Regions from separate parts of the Homo sapiens genome. Here all the other regions are linked to region 2. Evidence: promoter capture Hi-C in human tissues and cell types (Jung and others, 2019). All regions are on one chromosome and are shown on one strand. Each heading gives the region's core, a stretch centred on a gene start or on the middle of the fragment in contact. The rest is flanking DNA. Distances are from core to core; before and after follow the strand shown.

Region 1 (2,700 bases), core at 77-2,576, 150 kb after region 2:
GCATCTTTTTCCCCATCTCTGCAGGGGGCGGAGGAAAGCGCAAAGGGAAAAGCAAGAAGTGGAAAGAAATCCTGAAGTTCCCTCACATTAGCCAGTGTGAAGACCTCCGAAGGACCATAGGTAAGCTGTCCTGCCTGGGGGCTGTGCGGGGAGTGAGTAGCAGGTGATCCGCCAAGCCGTTTGTGCATTAAGGCAAATGGGTGAGCCGCCAAGCTGTCTGTGCAGTGAGGCAAATGCCAATCAGTGGACACAGTATTGTGCTTCCAGGTAGGGGCTCCAGGCTGACCTTTTTGCTAATCAACATAAACAGGCAACCAGTATTCATTGAATATATGGCATGTGCCGGGCAGAGTGACCTCCTCCCAGTTATCCTTTGAGGCAGGTGCTATTATTTAATATTTCACTTCACCTTTCAGATGGGGAAACTGAGGCACAGAGTGGTTCTGTAACGGCCCAAAGTCACACAGCTGATGGGAGGGTGGTGGAGGTGGGCCAGGCCCAACACAGAGCCACCGCTCATAACTTCTCCCCTTTCTTCCTGGAGCCTGTGGGTCCTGCCCTCAGGGGGCAGCCCAGGCTTTGGGAGCTGAGAGTCAGGTGGGGTGGGGGATGTGGGGTGAGGTGGGGGAGGTAGGGCTCCCCTTTCCACTTGCTGGGGATGTCAGTGCTCCTGAGGAGCCACTGGGCTCAGTGGCACAGCTTAGCCCCCTGTATCCAGCACACACACACCAGGCACCTCCAAGAGCAGCCAACCAAGTGGGTCTGTGCCTGGTCCCACGCAGGACACGGCTGTGGTGAGGAGGCCTGGGTGCCTGGGCGAGAGCGCCCAGGGGACAGGCATGATGTGAGGCCCCACTCCAGAGTGTTTGGGGTCCCGGCCCTTCTCCCCTCTGTGCCCTGGGGTGGGTCCTTCCCCATCACTGCCTGAGGGCTCCCCATCCGCTTATTATTGTCAGAGGTCATGGACGTGCTGAACACGTTTAAGAAGACTCAAGTCCACTGAAGGCTGGGCACGGGGTGGTGCTGCCCAGAACTCCATAGGCCCAGCTTTTCTGGGGACTTCTGCCCAGGGCCTCGGGTGAGCTGCCCCGTGCCTGCCCTGGAATTCAAGGCCACATGTAGCCATTTATTCAGCTTTTCTAAATGGCCTCTTCACGGTCTGTCCCCACCAGTTTCCAGGGCCGGGGGGACTTACCTGCCACCCCCAGGCTTGCTCCGTCCTGGCCCTGGGCCACTCAGTCCACACTCCATGTTTATAGGTGATAGGAGGCCATCTGTGCCCCGCCCCACGACGGCAGACATGAGCAGGTGAAGCAAGGTGGGATCCTGAAGGGTCAGGAAACGTCCTTAAGACCCACCTTCCATCCCTAAAATCCCAGGCACATCAGAATCCCCATGGTGTTCTCGGGCCGAGAATGCTGCTGGCCTGAGGGATTGGGGGCTCTGGGTCCAGGCAGACATGGGTTCAGATCCTGCCCTCTCTGCTGGCCACATGACAAGTTACTTTATCCTGCTGAGCCTGTTTCCCCAGCTGTAACACTGTCTGTGAACCCAGTCATAGGGTGGTGGAGTGGGTGAGATGAGACCATGTGTGTAAAGGGCTTAGCTGGTGCCCTCGTCGGGAGACCAGGGGCCCATGCCCCTCTGCACACTGGCGTGCTTTCCGGAGTTCCCACAGACACCACGGTGCCGTGGATGCCGTGTGCACCCTTGATGATCAGCTTTTCTGCTGGAGGCAGTCGAGGTCGGGTGGAAGAGAAGAGGGGCTGTGTTCCTGGGGCTGTAGCTTACTGGGGAGGATTTGACCACTGAGACTTTGCAGGGGGCCTTCAGAGAGGGGAGCCAGGGAGAACCCCTCTGGTGACTAGCCATTTCCTCATGGGGGACCATTTTGTTCTTCATGCTAATTTTGGCTCAGAGAGAATAGGGCCTGTTGTGGGACTGGGGAGGAGACCTTAGTTGCCATGGTTGCAACTCACCCATGTGTGCCCAGCAAGTACCCCCTTTCTGGTGAGCCAAGCCTTCTCTGTCATTTTCATCCTGGGTCTGCTGGCTGCCAGAAAGCCATTCCTGGATGCTGAGCCCAGCTTCTCCCAAAAGAGGGATGTTACCTCACAACCCATTCACTGTGGCCCCAGGGAACGTCTTGCACTCATCCACAGGGCCACAGGGCTGCTCGGAGAGACCTTTCTGGGGTGTTGAGTTGGAGGTGAGAGCTTACAACAGGAGGAAAGCATCTCCAAGGGGAGCAATGTGAGAAGCGGGCACCTGCGCACAGCCACGCTCACCTGGCAGGGCGGTGCTTCCCGGCCCTGGCTAAACTGTCTGCAGGTGGTGATGCCAGGAGTGCTATGGGGCACAGCCAGATGTGAAGGCCACTTCCTCAGAGAAGCCTCTTTTGACTCCTGAATTTAAATGAGCTCCAGACCAGAGTCTCTCAGAGCACCTGTCCTCTTCTGCCAGAGCACCCTTCCTCAGGGCTCTTTGGGGAGGAACTGGATTGTTAAAATTCACCACTGCGTAGTTGGTGCCTGCCTCACAGGAGGGGCACAATAGATGTTAGTTGGATGAACGAGGGAAGGAAAGAATAAATGAGGTGTAAGTGACCACTCAACTTATGAAGTGTTTCTAATAAATAGAAGAAGAGCATTGAGAGCCAGATACTGAGCATTCATGTATCTGCCATCCAGATGAGAGAAA
Region 2 (2,864 bases), core at 63-2,562:
ACACAAAACTTAGCCAGGCGGCGGTGGCGGGCACCTGTAATTCCAGCTGCTTGGGAGGCTGAGGCAGGAGAATTGCTTGAACCCGGGAGGCAGAGGTTGCAGAGCCGAGATCGCGCCATTGCACTCTAACCTGGGCGACAACTCCGTCTCAAAAAAAAAAAAAAAAAAAATCAGAAACTCCATGCGCTTAAAGCAACACAGGGTTCAGAAGCCAGGGGACTTGTGCAGGCTTTTCCCAGCACTATCTGCTGAGTATGTTCTACCATTTCAAGGTTTTCCTTAGAAAAACAAGGCCCCTCCAGCACCAGCGACAAGTAAACAAGAAGAGCCAAATTCAGCCTCTGGGAGTCTGTTAAAGGCTCAAGGGACATGTTTACTCAACTTTTTTTTTTTTTTTTTGAAACAGAGTCTCGCTCTTTTACCCAGGCTAGAGTGCAGTGGCGCGATCTCGGCTCGCTGCAGTCTCGACCTCCTGGGCTCAAGTGATCCTCCCACCTTAGCCTCCCCAGGAGCACTGACCACCATGCCCGGCTATTTTTTTTTTTAGAGACAAGGTCTCACTATTATTGTCCAGGCTGGTCTCAAACTCCTGGGCTCAAGTGATCTGCCCGCCTCGGCCTCCCAAAGTGCTAGGATTACAGGCGTGAGCCACCGCACTCTGCCGGTTTGCTCAACTTTAATGTTCAAAATGACTCAGGAGAACGAAAGGGGCTGTGTTGAACCCCACCAGAGAAAGCCGTGTACCAAAAGAGCACGACGCATTGCCCACAGTTAAGCAGGAAACAGCAGCAGAAACACGCGGGAGTGGGATTGGGAGGGAAAGCCTTTGTGAGTTTTTTAGCACTTTGCGCGTTTTTATCCAGTATTTAAGGGGCTGTTCACAGCAACGCCTTGATGTAGGCATCATTCTTTCCATCTTAAGTACACAGTCTGAGAAAGGCGAAGGCGCTTGCCCAAGATCACAGGGTCGGTGGCAGAATCAGGGCCAGGACCTTAAGTGGAGATGGGCCTGGGGACCGGGGACGCCGAAAGAGGAGGGACTCGGGGAAGAGACCGCGAGGATGGAGTGGGGAAGGGCGGTTCTGCGCAGGCGCATGGAACCTTCCCGGAGGGAGGCCTCTGGGTCCGTTACCCGCGGAAACCCTCCAAGAAGGGCGAATGGCCCTCATGCCCAGAAGCGCGGGGTCCTGTCTGAGAAGCACGTTCCCGGAGCCACCAGTGTCTCCACGCCTGTCCCCAGCCGACAGCCACTCACCGACGCTCGGAGCAACCGTCCTACAGCAGCCGCCATCTTCAGTGCACTCGGGCGCCACGGGGCGGGCAGAGACGCAGGGGCGGGGCCTACGGGGTGGTGAGCGGGCCCTCTGCTGGTGGGGGGGCGGGGCCGGAGGAGCCACCGCCTCCCCGCCTCCTGGAGACCCTGAGGGAGAAATTCCCTTTAAGGCTGAATGCTTGGGCAAGTGACACGTGGTTTTCCTACTGTCGCCCCAACCTTAAAAGAACGAATCCAGGCGGGGCATTAGGTATTTGTTTCCATATTTCCCACTGTTTTGTTAACCTTGTGTGGATTACTGTGTCTAGTATTTCTGTGACAGGATCCCTTTCTTATTTCAGCCTCAGGTAGAGACTTCCGGCTTCTGTATGAAATGGAATTAATTACAAATGCAGTTTTAGTCCGTTAATAAGCTAAGTGGGCTAGACACATCAAGGCTTTGTTGGCCTGAAATCCGCTGGAATTGTGTGTGGTCTAACATTTGGCCTCTCTTCCCAAAATTGGGAAAACTGGGACAAATTTAAAATTTGGTTTTTGTCTATTAATGAAGCCAAGTGTTCAGTGGTGAGCATAGTACTTGAAGCAACCACATCAAACATAGATAAAAATCACACCGTGGCCTTACAGTAAGTGTGACAAATTGCAGTCTTGGAGCTGGTATTTTCTTTTCTCTTTTCTTTTCTTTTCTTTTTTTTTTTTTTTGAGACTGGGTCTTGCTCTGTCGCCCAGGCTGGAGTGCAGTGGCATGATCTTGGCTCACTGCAACCTCTGCCTCCCGGGTTCAAGCGATTCTCCTGCCTGAGCTTCATGAGTAATTGGGATTCCTGAGCAGCTGGGATTACAGCCGCCTGCCACCATGCCCAGTTAAGTTTTTGTATTTTAAGTAGAGATGGGGTTTCACCATGTTGGCCAGGCTGGTCTCAAACTCCTGACCTCAAGTGATCCGCCCACCTCGGCCTCCCAAAGTGCTGGGATGATAGGCATGAGCCACTGCACCCGGTCTGAGTTGGTATTTTCCAATCACTAGTCATTCAATTAGCAACTTCGTTTCTCAAGTCTTCTTATCACCAAATATCACTTACTATTTTCTTTAAATTGGCTTTCTTTTTTTTTTTTCCTTTTCTTTTTTGAGACAGAGTCTCACTCTGTCGTCCAGGCTAGAGTGCAGTGGCACAATCTCGGCTCACTGCAACCTCTACCTCCTTGGTTCGAGCGATTCTTCTGGCTCAGCCTCTCGAGTAGCTGGGATTACAGGCGTGCACCACTAAACCCGGCTAATTTTTTTAGTATTTTTAGTAGAGATGGGGTTTCACCATATTGGCTAGGCTGGTCTTGAACTCCTGACATCAGGTGATCCTCCCACCTTGGCCTCCCAAAGTGCTGGGATTACAGGCGTGAGCCACCACACCCAGCCCAGTATATTTTCTAAAATCATCTCAGGTACCACTAGGCGCCACCCTGGGTACCAGTCCCCAGATGTGGAAAGGACTGCCTTGGATGTGTGGGGACACACGTTTCGACTATTTCACCTCACACCTTCCTTGTGTTTGTTTAATTGGTTTTAATTATGTCTGTGTTTAGCAGATGATTG
Region 3 (2,700 bases), core at 136-2,635, 200 kb after region 2:
TGACAGGTTCTTTCTATATGGCCACAAGATAGCCACCAGCAACTCCAGGCTTACATGGTCCTAAGAGTTAAAGGCTTCAAATAAAGAAAAAGTAACTTTCCTTAGAGTGCCAAAAAATGTTCAAGTAAAGACTCAGATTGGTAAGGCCTGGGCCCTGTGCTCATCTCCGAGCTTGGTGTTGGCCTCACCCAAAGAATTATTATAGGGGAAGGGATGACTCTCCAAAGAAAGGAATACAAGACCTTGTGTTTCTAGAGCAGTTCAAAGTGTGGTTCGTGGACTGATTTTACTGGTCTGTGATAAGTACAGAGATGCTTAGAAACACTCATAGCAATTCGTTGTGGCTGTAGCATCCAGGTGTGTGATCAGTGGACTCATCTTGTGGAACAGGTGATAAAGCAGTTGGCTGTTGTCAGACTCACGTGGAAAGTTGGGAACAATGGAGATTTACAAAAGTATCAGTCCGTGATGGATTGGAAATTTAAAAAACTGGTTCTTTTCCATAGATAGCTGGAAAAGCACTGCTTTAAACTGGAGAGTATGTTAAAACACAGATTTCTGGGCCCTACCAGTGGAATTCTGATTCAGTCAGTAGGTGATATGGTTTGGCTATGTCCCCACCTAAATCTCATGTTGAATTGTAGCTCCCATAATTCCCACATGTGTGGGAGGGACCTGTTGGGAGGTAATTGAATCATGGGGATGGGTCTTTCCCATGCTGTTCTCATGATAGTGAATAAGTCTCACAAGATCTAATGGTTTTATAAAGGGGAGTTCCCTTGCAAACGCTCTGTCTTGCCTGCCACCATGTAAGACGTCCCTTGCTCTTCTGTCATGATTGTGAGGCCTCCCCAGTCACGTGGAACTGTGAGTCAAGTGAACCTCTTTCCTTTATAAATTACCCAGTCAGGTATGTCTTTATTAGCAGCATGAGAACAGACTAATATAGTAGGTCTGAAGTGGGGTGGGGGGAATGAGAATCTGCATTTTCAGTAGGCTCCCAGGTGGAATATTTTGAGAGTTACTGAAATGTGACACAGACAGGAAGTTCGCACATGCTGTTGGGGAAATGAAAATGGTGCGGATAGACTTGCTCGACACGGGGTTGCCACAAACCTTCAATTCATATAAAAAATGCAATATCTGCAAAAGACAATAAAGTGAAGTGCAATAATACGAGTGTGCCTGCGTAGTCTGCGGAGGCTTTCACTACAACAGCGAGCTGAATCGTTGTGAAAGAGACCATATGGCCCTCAAACTACTACCATATGGCTAGTAGTAAATATCTCCCACTAGCCCTTTACAGAAAAGTTTGCCTACCCTTGCCTTAGAACCAGGGGGTGAGATGCGAGATCAGGAATCCCTATTGAGGTTGGATGGAAACAGTTTTTGGAATCCTGGTTGAAACTGACCTCCAAGGTTGATCTTGGAATCTGGTCTAAGTCCCTGTAATCATCTGCATTTGTGAAGCTGGCATGCCAAGAAGGTTTGCAGGTTGAGAAGGGGCTTAGAGGTTATTATTCGAACCCCCTTATTTTATGGATGAGGAAACTGAGACCAAGAAAGGGGAAGTGACTTGTCCAAGGTTACACAGAGAATTGATGGCAGAGCTGAGACCGACCCCTGCCCAGTGCTCATCCACTGTGGTGTCCTTGGCAACAGGCCTGGGGTGTGGTATCTTTAGTGGCTTACAATGAGAATAGGCTAAGAGGCAAGCGAGGTCTCTCCCAAGCACCCAAACCTCACCAGGTGAAGGTGGTGAGGACAGGGGCCCCTTGGCTTGCTGTGCCCTCTGTTGGTTGACGTACCCTCTGTTGGCTGACAACTTGGCAAGTGTGAGCCCTGTCCTGGGAAGGGCAGAGTTGGAAGTGAGTTGGCTGTGCCCAGGCCCCCAAGACGTGTGTTGCTTATTGTATGTGCATGTGTCTTAGCATGTGGATTTTCAGCCAGTTACATTCATTACCAAGGAAGTGTACTTGCTGGTACAGTTTGGATATTTGTCCCTGCCTAAGTCTCATGTTGAGATGTAATCCCTAATGTTGAGGTGGAGCCTGGTGGGAGGTGTTTGGGTCATGAGGGCATTGTTGGTGATAGTGAGTTCTTGTGAGATCTGGTTGTTGCAGTGTGGCACCTCCCCTTCAACTCTCCTCTGGCCATGTGACATGCCTGCTCCTGCTTCACCTTCTACCACGATTGTAAGCTTCCTGAGGCCTCCCCTGAAGCAGATGCCAGTGCTATGCTTCCTGTACAGCCTGTAGAACCATGAGCCAATTAAACGTGTTTTCTAATAAATTAACCAGGCTCAGGTATTTATAGCAATGCAAGAATGGCCTAATACACTTGCTGGCCACTCACTTAACACTACTTGCTGGTTCTCGCCCCTTCACGCCTCACCTCCCATCCCTGAGTGACCTACCACTTTCTGTCTGTTTTCTTTAGGACAGTCTTGAAGATCCACTCAGTGACATCCTATGGTGGTCTCAGACCTAGCCCAGAATTCTTGTCCTAATTCACCTTCTCCCACACTTCAGCACACCCTGCAGGTCCTCCTGGCATCTCACCTGGAGGTTTCACCTCCCCACTGTAGCTTCTCCTTGCCCCTCCTCCCAGCCTCAAGCCCCATTCTCTCTGGCTTTGACCTTTTTCCCTCTTCTTCACCTGGACTCAGCTTCTCCCCCTGCCTGCATTGTCTGCTCATTC
Region 4 (2,700 bases), core at 46-2,545, 170 kb after region 2:
TTATTTGGAATCTGGTGTTTTCAGAATGTCACCACCTCTTGCTTTGCGTTTCCCGATGGAAACATTTCACAAGAATCTTTTCAGCTGTCGAAGTGGTGCAACCCTCTTTCAGAAGGTTTTATTTGTCCAGCGCAGAGAAGAACCCCTTTTTTGTGAAGTCCCTGCCACGTTTCACTGGTCAGTTCAGATCTTGCCAGGCTGCCATGGAGTGGATCAAATCCCATTACAGCAAAAGCTGTTTGAGTTTCATGGACACGTTTGTGGAAACAATTGCAGACTCCTCTGTTGACAGTCTACTTCCAGTGTGTAATGTTTGATAGAACATGCACGCAGCACAGCAGAAGAATTTGGACAGCCCTCAGAATGTGCTGGAATGGAATTTGGCTGGGCCTGCTGTCCAGGTCTCTGATGGGGCTGTGGGAGAATGTTTGCCCACCCATTAGGCAGATATTCAATGGGCTCCGTCTGTGTTGCAGATACTGGGCTAATCACAGAGATAAGTGCAACCCAGGCCCCACCCTCAGGGAGCCTAGTCAGTAGGGAATGGAAGAGACATCTGCATTTTGTTCCTAAATATGTCAGAATCATGTTAGGAAGTGGATGGAATGTGTTATGCATTTATTTTAATGTATGTCATTAAAAAAATCCAGCCACTGCAACAGTAATTCCACTATGTTATTACTTAGAAAGACTAAGTTGGAAAAAGACAGGAGGGGCAGTTAATTACAACCTAAGTTAAAGAAAGATATTGAGTAAATACTGTAATGGTGGTAACTCTTTGATATGGTTTGGCTCTGTGTCCCCACCCAAGTCTCGTCTTGAATCGTAGCTCCCATAATTCCCACATGTTGTGGGAGGGACCTGATGGGAGATAGTTGAATCATGGGGGTGGTTTCTCCATTACTGTTCTTGTGGTAGTGAATAAGCCTCACCAGATCTGATGGTTTTATAAGGGAAAACCCCTTTCACTTGGCTCTCATTCTCTCTTGCCGGCCGCCATGTAAGATGTGCCTTTCCTCTTCTGCCATGATTGTGAGGCTTCCCTGGCCATGTGGAACTGTGAGTCCATTAAACCTCTTTTTCCTTATAAATTACCCAGTCTCGGGTATGTCTTTATCAAGCAGAGTGAGGATGGACTAAGACACTATTATAGGTGGTAGGTAAAAACCATGACAGCAGCTCATGAATGACTGGTATCTGGAAAAAATAAGTTCAGGTGTATTTTGTGTTGATTGGTTGCCAGGGGCTTTACCTCTGTTCTCATCCAGTCCTTGGGAACCCTGGATAATGGTAGTGTCAGATGGTAGTCCCAACTGACAGCTGATAAAAGCTCATAAAGTTCAAAGAAGTGAAATGATTCATCCAAGGTCACATGACTAGTAAGTGAGGGAACTTGAATTTGGATCCAGGTCTGTCAACTCCTGATCCTGAACTCTTAGCCACTATGCTATATGGCAATTGATCAAATTAAAAAGTGATCCTTCCCTCTGCAGAGTGTAATCCAGGAAAGCTTCCTAGGGGAGGTGGCCTCAACTGAGTGGTAGGCTTTAGCAAGGGAAGTTTGGGTGGTAAGGTAGAATGTCCCATGGGTCAGATACCCATAATTATTGGCTGGATGGTTTGAATTATAGTGACTTAAACACTTTTTCCTCATATAAATAAAATCTTGAGTTAGGCCATGCGTTGGCTCTTCTGTGTCATCAGGGTCCTAGGCTGCTTTTATCTCTCGATTCCACTAGGTGTCTCATGATCCAAGATGGCAGATAGAGCTCCAGCCACAATATTCTTGTTCCAAAGAAGTAGAAAAAGATAAGAGGGAAAGGGTAAAAGTACATATCTCCCAATGTGTGAGCCCCTTGAAGGAGCTTTTCTGGAAGGGAAAGCTAACAAGTTATTCTTGCATCTCATTGGCTGGCCCTGGTTATTAGGGAGGCTGCCCACTGTGTGCTCAGCATATGTGAATGGAGGACAAACATCCTGCCCTCAAGGTGCTTACAGCAGATCGAACTGCTTCTCGTTGAAGCTGTAAAGGAGACTGCAGTTGAGTGGGTAAGAAAAAGCCTCCTCTAACCAGACTTGCCTCTGGAGTGGCCCCAATAAGCTCCTGGGTCTGTTTTGGTTTCTTCAACACATTTATTTGGTGTTTAATTGGAGGGGAAAGTTGCAGCGATTATGTCACCTGCCCAAGGCAGCCCCTGCCCACCATCTCATCAACCCTTCTGAAAAGACAAGAGTCACTCTTGGTACAAACCAGTCTCATTCCACCACCTGCCATCCTCTGGTGCAATTAGAGCAAGAGCCCACTTTCCACCCGAATCCTGGATTGGTGTCATTTAAGCTCAGCAGAGCCCCGTATGGTGGTGACCAGGCCCAAGTTCTGTGCAGCTTACGGGCAAGAGTAGGACCTGGGCACTGTGGGCCACCCGGGCTCCGTCCTCCCTCTCTCTCCCCTGAGGACCTGGGTTTGCTTTTCACTTCTTATCTCAGGAGGGTATGCTGGCCAGTTGCCAGAAATATCAAAAGTTTGGAGAGTTCTTTAAAATCAGTGGAGCCTTCTGGGTTGCCAATGTTGTTCCGGGGACTGGTTCAGAGATCAAATCTTGTTCATGTGAAGAAGCCCTCTCTGCTGGGATTTGGGTTCATGTGGGTATGAAATGCCCTTTTCACTTTTTGGGAATTGGGATGCTAGACCATGGAAAG

The links. Contacts are between HindIII fragments. The study calls those that stand out against the background at their distance.
Region 1: a fragment that was not itself captured here is called in contact with the fragment with the promoter of PRDX3 in region 2 in 3 of the 25 tissues and cell types used here (dorsolateral prefrontal cortex, liver and spleen).
Region 3: a contact is called between a fragment that was not itself captured here and the fragment with the promoter of PRDX3 in region 2, in 2 of the 25 tissues and cell types used here (spleen and thymus).
Region 4: a contact is called between a fragment that was not itself captured here and the fragment with the promoter of PRDX3 in region 2, in 1 of the 25 tissues and cell types used here (mesendoderm cells).

What each region holds. Positions count from the first base shown.
Region 1 is chr10:119,326,492-119,329,191 of GRCh38, forward strand. GRK5 (G protein-coupled receptor kinase 5) reads left to right here. Exons shown (of 16, transcript NM_005308.3): 2 at 25-120. Among named protein-coding and RNA genes, the nearest start is that of GRK5-AS1, 11 kb to the right of the region's middle. The HindIII fragment of the contact is 5,135 bases long and covers 1-2,700 here.
Region 2 is chr10:119,177,500-119,180,363 of GRCh38, forward strand. PRDX3 (peroxiredoxin 3) reads right to left here and starts at 1,313. Exons shown (of 7, transcript NM_006793.5): 1 at 1,256-1,313. The coding sequence starts at 1,291. RefSeq lists enhancers at 192-836, 836-1,315 and a silencer at 1,346-1,455. The HindIII fragment of the contact is 15,713 bases long and covers 1-2,864 here.
Region 3 is chr10:119,372,694-119,375,393 of GRCh38, forward strand. All of the region lies in intron 2 of GRK5 (G protein-coupled receptor kinase 5), which reads left to right. Among named protein-coding and RNA genes, the nearest start is that of MIR4681, 3.9 kb to the right of the region's middle. The HindIII fragment of the contact is 8,040 bases long and covers 1-2,700 here.
Region 4 is chr10:119,350,505-119,353,204 of GRCh38, forward strand. The region is part of intron 2 of GRK5 (G protein-coupled receptor kinase 5); the gene reads left to right. Among named protein-coding and RNA genes, the nearest start is that of GRK5-AS1, 13 kb to the left of the region's middle. The HindIII fragment of the contact is 5,641 bases long and covers 1-2,700 here.